Linked DNA regions of Homo sapiens: regions 1 and 2 are each linked to region 3. Evidence: promoter capture Hi-C in 16 types of primary human blood cells and fetal thymus (Javierre and others, 2016). All regions are on one chromosome and are shown on one strand. The core of a region is centred on a gene start or on the middle of the fragment in contact, and the rest is flanking DNA. Distances in the headings are between cores, read along the strand shown. Region 1 overlaps TATDN3 (TatD DNase domain containing 3). Region 2 overlaps BATF3 (basic leucine zipper ATF-like transcription factor 3). Region 3 holds the start of VASH2 (vasohibin 2).

Region 1 (3,275 bases), core at 367-2,866, 140 kb before region 3:
TAGTGGTTTCCAGAATTTTGAGGGGAAGGATAATAGGGAGTGACAGCTAATGGGTATGGGATTTCTTTTTGGAGTGATGAAAATATTCCAGAACTAGATAATGGTGATGATTGTACAATTTTGTGAATATAGCAAAAAACACTGGATTGTGTACTTTTAAAGAGTGAATATTATGGTTATGTGAATTATAGCTTTAAAAATTAAAAACTAGGCCGGGCGCAGTGGCTTATGCCTGTAATCCCAGCACTTTGGGAGGCCGAGGCGGGCAGATCACGAGGTCAGGAGATCGAGACCATCCTGGCTAACACGGGGAAGCCCCGTCACTACTAAAAATACAAAAAATTAGCCAGGCATGGTGGTGGGCGCCTGTAGTCCCACCTACTCGGGAGACTGAGGCAGGAGAATGGCGTGAACCCGGGGGGGCAGAGCCTGCAGTGAGCCGAGATCGCGCCACTGCACTCCAGCCTGGGTGACAGAGCGAGACTCCGTCTCAAAAAAAAAAAAAAGAAAAAAGAAAACCATCCACAACCCAATCTAAAATTTAAATTGGGCTAGGCACTGTGGCTCACACCTGTAATCCCAGCACTTTCGGAGGTCAAAGCAGGCAGTTCACCTGAGGTTAGGAGTTCAAAACCAGCCTGGCCAACATGGTGAGACCCCTTCTCTACTAAAAATACAAAAATTAGCTGGGTGTGGTGGCGCATGCCTATAATCCCAGCTACTCAGGAGGCTGAGGCAGGAGAATCACTTGAACCCAGGAGGCAGATGTTGCAGTGAGCTGAGATCGCGCTTCTGCACTCCAGCCTGGGCGACAGAGACTCCATCTCAAAAATAAATACATTAATTAATAAAAAAATAAAATTTAAATTGCATAAGAACCTTAGATTTGGGCCAGGCACGGAGGCTCATATCTGTGACCTCAGCACTTTGGGAGGCCAAGGGTTGCGGATCACCTGAGCTCAAGAATTTGAGAACAGCCTAGGCAATATGGCGAAACCCTGTCTCTACAAAACATATAAAAATTAGCCGAGTGAAGGCAGGGCGCGGTGGCTCACGCATGTAATCCCAGCACTTTGGGAGGCCAAGGCGGGTGGATCACGACGTGGTCAGGAGATCAAGACCATCCTGGCTCACATGGTGAAACCCCGTCTCTACTAAAAATACAAAAAATTAGCCGGGCATGGTGGTGGGCGCCTGTAGTCCCAGCTACTTGGGAGGCTGAGGCAGGAGAATGGCGTGAACCCGGGAGGCGGAGCTTGCAGTGAGCCGAGATCGCGCCACTGCACGCCAGCCTGGGTGACAGAGCGAGACTCTGTCTCAAAAAAAAAAAAAAAAAAAAAAAAAATTAGCCGAGTGTGGTGGTGTGTGCCTATAGTCCCAACTACTTGGGAGGCTGAGGTGGGAGGATGTCTTCAGCCCAGGAGATGGAGGGTCCAGTGAGCCGAGTACGTGCCACTCCACTCCAACATGAGTGACAGAGCCAGACTGTGTCTCAAAAACAAACAAAACCCTTAGATTTATAAACATAAAGCTTTGAGTGCCTTAAAGTGGATGTTAGAAAGAAACACTGAATGTGATGAGGGTGGAGAAACAACAGAAATCACTTCCTTGTCAATGTCGGCACATGATACCAGATGTTTGGATTTCTGCTTGCTGGGTATACCTCATTTTTGCTATGGTTACTATTCTTTGGTTTCCCTAGAAGCTTTGGATAATTTTTAGGAATTAGTGTTTATATTTTAACATAACTTTTAGTAGTGGAATTATGAGAACATCCAGTTAGCATTTATCAATTGAATTGTTTTTTTGAAGCAGAGTCTCACTCTGTCGCCCAGGCTGGGGTGCAGTGATGTGATCTTGTCTCACTGCAATCTCCGCCTCCCAGGTCCAAGCAATTCTCCTGCCTCAGCCTTCCGAGTACCTGGGATTACAGGCGTGTACCACAATGCCTGGCTAATTTTTGTATTTTTTTTTTCCACTCTGGCTAGGCTGGAGTGCAGTGGCGCGATCTCAGCTCACTGCAACCTCTGCCTCCCGGGTTCAAGTGATTCTGCCTCAACCTCCCGAGTAGCTGGGATTACAGGCAGCCACCACTACGCCCGGCTAATTTTTGTATTTTTAGTAGAGACGGGGTTTCACCATGTTGGTCAGGCTGGTCTCGAACTTCCAATCTCAAGTGATCAGCCTGCCTTGGCCTCCCAAAGTGCTGGACAGGTATGAGCCACCACCCCGGCTTAATTTTTGTATTCTCAGTAGAGATGGGGTTTTATCATGTTGCCCAGGCTGGTCTCGAACTCCTGGTCTCAAGTGACCCACCCACCTCAGCCTCCCAAAGTACTGGGATTACAGGCGCGAGCTACCACAACCGGCCTATCAGTTGAATAGTAAAAAATAATTTTTTTTTGAGGCGGAGTCTCGCTCTGTTGCCCAGTCTGGAGTACAGTGGCGTGATCTCGGCTCACTGCAACCTTGCCTGGCTAATTTTTGTATTTGTATTTTTATTTTATTATTATTATTATTTTTTTTTTGAGATGGAGTCTTGCTCTGCTGCCCAGTCTGGAGTACAGTGGGGTGATCTCGGCTCACTGCAACCTCCACCTCCCGGGTTCAAGTGATTCTTCTTCCTCAGCCTCCTGAGTAGCTGGGATTACAGGTGCCTGCCACCATGCCTGGCTAATTTTTGTATTTTCAGTAGAGATGGGGTTTCACCATGTTGGCCAGGCTAGTCTTGAACTCCTGACCTTATGTTCTGTCTGCCTCGGCCTCCCAAAGTGCTGGGATTACAAGCATGAGCCACTGTGCCTGGCAATTTTTGTATTTTTAGCAGAGACGGGGTTTCACCATGTTGGTCAGGCTGGTCTTGAACTCCTGACCTCGTGATCCACCCGCCTCGGCCTCCCAAAGTGCTGGGATTACAGGCGTGAGCCACCGCGCCCAGCCTAAAGCATAAATTTTAAGTTATTGCAGAATAAAATGCATTATTAGTATGTCAATTTAATGCTCTTTATCTTTATTTCTCATGTTTTAAACTTAGCTGCTTTCTCTTTTCTCTAAGAAGCAGAAACTTGTGAAACAATTGCCTTTAACTTCTATATGCTTAGAAACAGATTCACCTGCACTAGGACCAGAAAAACAGGTAAATGGTTTTCTAATTTCTATATTATTTAGATTGTATCTTTCATTTGAGTTCTTTTCAATTTAGCTGTATTTCTCATTATAGTGTAAATACAGTGGAATCCTCATATACTGCCAGATTGAGGGCTTATATTAACTTT
Region 2 (3,553 bases), core at 848-3,347, 250 kb before region 3:
AGGGCCAAGGCAGGTGGATCGCTTGAGTCCAGGAGATTGAAACTACTCTGGGCAACGTGGCAAAACCCCACCTCTACAAAACTACAAAAATGGCCAGGCGCAGTGGCTCACACCTGTAATCCCAACACTTGGGAGGCCGAGGCGGGTGAATCACGAGGTGAGGAGTTCGAGACCAGCCTGGCCAACATGGTGAAACCCCATCTCTACTAAAAATACGAAAAATTAGGTGGGTGTAGTGGCGGGCGCCTGTAGTTCCAGCTACTCGGGAGGCTAAGGCAGGAGAATCGCTAGAACCCAGGAGGCAGAGGTTGCAGTGAGCTGAGATCATGCCACTGCACTCCAGCCTGGGCAAACAGAGACTCTGTCTCAAAAAAAAAAAAAAAAAAAAAAAAAAACCTACAAAAATAAGGGCTGAGGGGATGAGGTGGGAAGATTGCTTGAGCCTGGGAGGTGGAGGCTGCAGCGAGCCATGATCATGCCATCACACTCCAGCCTGGGCAACAGAGCAAGATCCCGTCTCAAAAAGACAAGAAAGTATAGCAGGAGAGAGCTAAACTAAAATCTTTAATTACACACACCAACCCCGACAAAGACAAGAACATGGAATGGTGGCCCATTCCTCAGATAGATCCTTGGATGCTTTCAAGGCCAGTTCCTGGTATGGAGCAGCTCCACGTCCCAACTGCAGGATTATGCAGGTGTATGCATGAGGGCGGAGGGAAAAGGAATGGCTTAGGATAAATCCTAGGCTTCTGATTTGAGTGATGAGAAAGATGGTTCGCTCCATTAACTGCAGTTTGAAGACAATGAGAAGAGAAAGTCTCAGGGTAAACGGACAATAACACTCTTTTATGGATGTGGTACATCACAGGAGCCTGCAGTGGACCCATGGAGAAACAGCTCAGCAGACACTGAAGCTATGGGGTCTAGGGTCCAGGACAGAGGGCCTGCCTGGAGTAATCAATGTTGGGAGCTGATGCTGGGAGAACAGATTAATAGATTAAGTCTTCCAGGGTGAGAAAAAAAAAAAAGGGCAGAGTTTGAAACACTGGTCACCACCAACATTTAAGCCAATAAAGGGTCGAAGGCTAACAAAGAAATAGAGAAAAAAATCGGCGAAGAGGGTTAGGAAAACTAGGAAATGTGGTCTTTTAGAAGCAAAAGAGGGGAAAGCTTTAAGAAGAGATGGGTCCAAAGTGTCGAATGTTCTAACAAGGTAAAGGATGATGAGACCAGAAAGAGAGTCCTGGATAGGGCAGTGCCAGGGCACTGATGGCTGCAATGGGAGCAGTTTCTGTAGGGTGTGTGTGTGTGTGTGTGTGTGTGTACACACACACATTGGGTACATGTGTGAATGTGTGTGTTTGTTTGTGTGTATATATATGTGTGTTGAGTGGAAAGGGGGTAGCAGAAATTAAATCACAGAGGATTGGGGAATAACCAGGAACCAGGGACACAGAGACAACAGGTGTAACTACTCTTTTTTAAGAAGCAAAGATGTTAGCGGATTACTTTGGAGGGAAACAAAACAAAACAGGAAGTAAGGACGTGAGGGAAGAAAAGAAATGGAGCAAGAACTTGAAAGGGAATCAGGGTCCAGAAGAGGCTCTGTTTTGTTTTATAATGAAATAAACTTGACCATGAGAAGCACTCAGTGGATGAGGGAGAAATGAACACGTCCGTGAGCAAACAGTGAGAACACTGGGCTGGAAGGACCTGGCAGAAATTAGATATGAGTGTTGCTGAAATCGTGATAAAGAGAACAGTCATCACCCCCACTCCCGTGCAAGGCAGAGGCTGTGTGGCTCTAAGGTGGCTTGCCCCTACCACGGTCTCACCTCATGGAGCTTGTCAGCCTTCTGGGTCTGCTTCTTCCGACTTCTCTGAGCAGCAACTCGGTTTTTTTCTCTCCTTCGGACCTTCCTGTCATCATCCTCAGGGCTCTGGGGAAAAACACTGGGTGGGTGTGATGTCGTGGCCCCTCGCCTTACCCTTTTCTGCCCTGTCTCATCACTCAGCGTTGTTCACTGAGCTTCATCATTTGCTTTGCAGTAGACAGCACCACTAGTTGCTATACCAATGGGCTCACAACAGCCCCTTGCCCAGGAGCACTCACCATGTGAGTGTGTGAAGTGTGTGGTGTGACCGCCGTTTAAAAGATGAGGAATAAGAAACTCAGAGAGGTTAAGGACCTTGCTCCAGGTATTACAGCCACTAAGTGGGTGAGTGGGAAGTGGAACTCAGGTCTGTTGGTCTCCAAATCAACGTTCATAAACCTCTAGCCCACAGGGCGTGTGCCTGGAAGAGCTGTGGTGTCAATGTCGTCCATCTGAGACTGGAAAGCTGGGTGGGGGTGGGGGGCGGTGGAGAGATCTGCTATCTGGAACTTGCTGTTTGCCAGTCCTTATACCACCACACATGAAAGGTACTTTTGATACTGCATGCAAATCATGATTACACTTACAACTAATTGCAGCCACATAACTCTACCAACACACCAAATGATCTTAAACCCCACTGACAGTGTACTCATTTGAACAATGCTTGGCTGACATTTTGTTTCAGAAGTCAGCAAATTTTTTATGTGTCTTGAAAGCTGTTAGCTATATGTAAGATTTAACCAAATTCAGTCAAATCCCTCAATAGTGATCATGAAACAGGCAGGCGGAAAAATGCACTGACCATGGTAAAAACACTTCAATCAGCTATAGAAAACATGAAAAAGGAGAGCAGTATTTGCTTTCTAGAACCCCATGAGAAGACACCACCAAGCGGGAAAAATACCACACTTACAGAGTTTAAGAGCCAAGAGGTACAAACAAGGAAAACTACTCAGTTATTAATATTCACGGAATGCAAATATTAATAACACAAAAAAGGATATTTTCAGTTATCATTTGATCTCATCTTGTATTCCACATAAGACACACATCTTCCCAAGTTACTGCAGGTAAGAAGTTTCAGATATGCAAGAATATAAAGGCATAAAAAGGAGAGGAATAAATAACATACATAGCAAATAGAAGCTTAAGGGAACAAAGTATGATAATACAGTCTTCTAGAGAGGCAAAGAAGTCTTGATAAACAAAACCAGAACATTACAGGGGAACATGTGGTTAGAAGACAGCTCTTTAGCTTTAGAATCACACAGATCCTAGTTTTGTCTCTTAGTGTCAACATGGTCTTGTGTAAATGGTTTAAATTCTCTAAATTTTCAGTTTTCTCATTTATTGTAAGCATAATTCATTCATTCTTTCAATATGTATTAACTGAGCACCTACCATGTGCCAGACACTGTTCTAGACACTGGGGATACAAGCCCTAAACAAAGGGTCAGTGAACTCTGCAGACTTGGTGCTAACAGCCTAATGCTTAGGATTGGGATGCGATGAAATGAGATTTTGTCCTAAAGCTCCCAGCATACAGTATGCCCTCAAGAAGTTACCTGCCTTTGTTGAAGTTGCTACTTTAAAAAAAAATGTATTCTGCATAGTGCTTCTCATGCCTCTTTGCTCTCTGTAATCAAAAAGTCACTAGCACAAGAAAGCAGCCT
Region 3 (3,542 bases), core at 439-2,938:
TATTTCTTTTGCTGTGCAGACCCTTTTTAGTTTAATTAGGTCTCATTTATTTATTTTCATTTTTGTTACATTTGCTTTTGAGGTCTTAGTCATGATTTCTTTGCCTGAGCTAATGTCTAGAAGTGTTTTTCTCATGTTATCTTCTAGAATTTTTATGGTTTCAGGTCTTAGACTTAAGTCTTTGATCCATCTGGAGTTGATTTTTGTGTAAGGTGAGAGACGAGGATCCAGTTTCATTCTACATGTCCACTTCAGCCTTTTGAGTAGCTGGGACTACAGGTGTGTGCCACCACATCTGGCTAATTTCAAAATATTTATTTAGTAGAGACAAGGTCTCGCTATGTTGGTCCAGTCTCTAATTCCTGGCCTCAAGTAATCCTTCCTCCTCTTTCTCCCAAAGTGCTGGGTTTAAAGGTGTGAGGCACCACGTCTGCCCTATTCTCATTATTGAATCTATAAAGTTCTTGGCATGGGCTCTGTCTCAGGGAGCAGTGCAGGGCTAAGTCCAGAATCCAGGTCTCCTCACCCAAGCCCTGGCTCTCAACTACCCCTCAGGGGTCTCTGCCCTCCTGTGGAAGAGAAGTTCCAGTTCCATGACAGGCAACTTGTCAGGATAAGCATCCAGAAACTGACCCGCCATCAGTGGCACTTTGACAACTGTCTTCTTAATTCAAGGTTCACTTAGCATAGGTCTCATAACTGCTTTGCTCAGAGCTGGCCTGCTGGCCTGCAGTTTAAAGAGAAAGGATGCTATGGCCAGGATCCTCAGTGTCACAAGAGAGGAAGTCAGGGAATCACAGAACCTTACAGCCAGAACAGACCCTGGAGAGCGGGAGGTCTGCTCTCCTTTCAGAAAGAGAAGCTAAGGCCCAGAGCAGGGAAGTGGCTTGTCCAGGGTCACACAGCTGAGCAAAGTGACAAACCTGGACCAGGAGCCAGCCTTCAGGTCAGCAGTCTGGTGCTCTTCCCACCTCAACCTGCTCTCCTCTTTCTTAAAGAAAAAGAAAGAGAAGGTGTTTCAGTAGTGAGTGTGGGATAGCCACCCACTTCACCATGGTTTGGAAGCATCTCTCCATCCCTCCTCTCACTCAACAGCTGTGGCAGAACAGTCAGGGCCTGCCTGACCTCTTGAGTTTTATTGTCTCCTCTCAACTTGGGCTTAAAGGGACTTTATTAACCATGACTAATACCAGAGGATCCAAAGCTGCACCCACTTGTTAATTTTGAGGAATTTTTAAATGCGGGATTTAAAAAAGATTTAATTTCACGCATAGGTATGAACAGCCCCTCATCATCCCAGGTAGAGGATGAACAACTCATCATCCCGGGTAGAGGCAGGTAAGTGTGTCCAGCGTCCCTCAGGGAATGCTCTTCTGATGCCAAACCCTCTGCTTCCGCGGGGTCACTTCTCGGGTGGTTTTGTTTCTCCTCTGCTTCCACAGTTGCAAACCCTCGAAGTGCCACGACCCCTGGGGAAACTCGATCTTAAGTCCCATGGCCAAACGCTCCAGCCCGCGGGGCTCTCAGGACACCACAGCGATCGGATTTCGCGTGGCCGCCAGGCTCCCCCTACTCCTGTCCCCTCCCGCCAGAGAACCCCTGGAGCCAATCAGAGCGTCGCGGAGCCCGGGGTTGTAGAGTCCCGAGCCCGGGACCCGCCCCTCTTTGTTGCGGTGGCCAATAGACGCATTCGGAACATCGGCGGCTGCCCGGGTGACTTGGTTATATGTCACAGAATAACATTCGAGAATGGGACATGGAATGAGGCGACGGCCCCAGCAAGCCCCAGCAGCCCCAGCCCCAGCCCCAGGCCCAGCAGCAGCAGCAGCAGCCCCTGCTCTCCCGCCGCCCGGAGAGGCTCTGCAGCCATGAAGCCAACCGTCCCGAGGTAGGATCTTGGAGCTGCCGCGCGCCCTTCCTGCGCGCCGCCCGCCTGCAGCCAGTCCCTCCCGGTGATAGGCGCTGGAACTCGGGGAAAAGGGGGCGGATGGAGCTCTTTCCACTAGATCCCCGCCGGGGTCCGGGAGGGCTTCCTGGAAGAAAGCGGGCCGCCTTGCAAGCCAAGGCTGCTGCAGCGCCCTCGCGCCAGCTCTGGGCGCTCACATGCCAGCACGTTCGTGGCTCCCCTCCTCTCTTGGCCACATCTGAGGACCCAGGAATGTGTGGAGCCTTGCGGGAACCTCCTGTTCCTTCATGCTACACAAGCTGTCTTTCTTCTCCCCACATCTTGCGCTCCGCATCCCCCAAGCTCCTTGTGCCCCTCCATCCCCAACCCCCCGGGTTTAGGTGTGTGTGAAGCTTCGTGGCACATTTTGAGCTGCCTTTCTAGGTAATCGCAGGGCTGGAAGCCCGTCATCGATTCTCAGGGAGGCTGTCAGCGTGCAGGGGGGAGCGGGGAGTGTCGTGGAGACACTCCGGGACCCCTCACTCGGTTCCGCTGTGCGTCCACTTAGCTGTGGTGTCAGCTGTGTCTCCGCTGATTTCAGGCACCGCCGGTAAGCAGGGAGCCTCCGCGGAGCTCCCGCCGCCGCTCCCCCTTGGTGAGTCCTGCCGCAGCGAGAGGCATGGAGAAGGCCGCCCCCGCGGGGCGCTGATCCCCTCGCCGCGCCCGCGCGCACACGCCCCCCGCCGCCGCCGCCGCTGCCGCCGCCGCGCGCCCCCAGTACCTCGCTCCCCGCCCAGGCCCCACCATGACCGGCTCCGCGGCCGACACTCACCGCTGCCCCCACCCCAAAGGCGCCAAAGGCACCCGGTCCCGGAGCAGCCACGCGCGGCCCGTGAGCCTCGCCACCAGCGGGGGCTCAGAGGAGGAGGACAAAGACGGCGGGGTGCTGTTCCACGTCAACAAGAGCGGCTTCCCCATCGACAGCCACACCTGGGAGCGCATGTGGATGCACGTGGCCAAGGTGCACCCTAAGGGGGGAGAAATGGTGGGCGCCATCAGGAACGCCGCCTTCTTGGCAAAGGTCAGTGGCTTCCAGGGCGGAGTTGGGGGGCTGGGGGTAGGTAGGCAGCGATGGGACCGTTTCAGCCTATACATAGCAAACACAGGCAATCTCCATTTTCCTAGTCCTGCTACAAACTCCCTTCCTCTCCCCATTCCTTCCTGCCAGCCCTTTTCTAATTGAGATATTTAGATTGGAAGCCTAAGAAATGGGGAAGGGAGAGGTAGCGGGCTTGCTATCCTGGGACTGTGTAATTGGATTGTGCCAAGGTGTCTTTGAAGCTCCAGCCAAACTCTATTATTTACTCACCCCCACATACATCCTCCTTCAGCAAAAGCTAGAGCCACCAGGTACCAGCGATGCCAAAGAATGCACAGACCCCAGGGATCCCACCCTGCTTGTTCTCTTTGGAGTGTCTTGCTCCTCCTCTGCTCCCCTCTTCCCCCAGCAAATGATTTATTAAGCTGTGAATGAATTTGAAATCAACCAGTCAGACTTCTCAGTGTGAATAATTTCCAGACTTTTTGCCAGTTTTTTTTCTTTTCTTTCTGGTTTTTTTGTGTGTGTGTGTGTGACAGTGACTTTCACCTCTGAAAC

Evidence for each region. The method cuts DNA at HindIII sites, captures the fragments that hold promoters and counts their contacts. A CHiCAGO score of 5 or more calls a contact.
Region 1: a fragment that was not itself captured here is called in contact with the fragment with the promoter of VASH2 in region 3 in 1 of 17 cell types (M1 macrophages); the score reaches 5.1 in M1 macrophages.
Region 2: a fragment that was not itself captured here is called in contact with the fragment with the promoter of VASH2 in region 3 in 1 of 17 cell types (total B cells); the score reaches 5.4 in total B cells.

The regions. Positions count from the first base shown.
Region 1 is chr1:212,809,193-212,812,467 of GRCh38, forward strand. TATDN3 (TatD DNase domain containing 3) reads left to right here. Exons shown (of 10, transcript NM_001042552.3): 9 at 3,056-3,136. Among named protein-coding and RNA genes, the nearest start is that of TATDN3, 19 kb to the left of the region's middle. The HindIII fragment of the contact is 174 bases long and covers 1,530-1,703 here.
Region 2 is chr1:212,695,123-212,698,675 of GRCh38, forward strand. It overlaps BATF3 (basic leucine zipper ATF-like transcription factor 3), which reads right to left. Exons shown (of 3, transcript NM_018664.3): 2 at 1,839-1,943. Among named protein-coding and RNA genes, the nearest start is that of BATF3, 2.9 kb to the right of the region's middle. The HindIII fragment of the contact is 1,853 bases long and covers 1,172-3,024 here.
Region 3 is chr1:212,948,853-212,952,394 of GRCh38, forward strand. It overlaps VASH2 (vasohibin 2), which reads left to right and starts at 1,689. Exons shown (of 8, transcript NM_001301056.2): 1 at 1,689-1,888; 2 at 2,487-2,966. The coding sequence starts at 2,691. RefSeq lists enhancers at 1,675-1,824, 2,345-2,394. The HindIII fragment of the contact is 4,785 bases long and covers 1-2,296 here.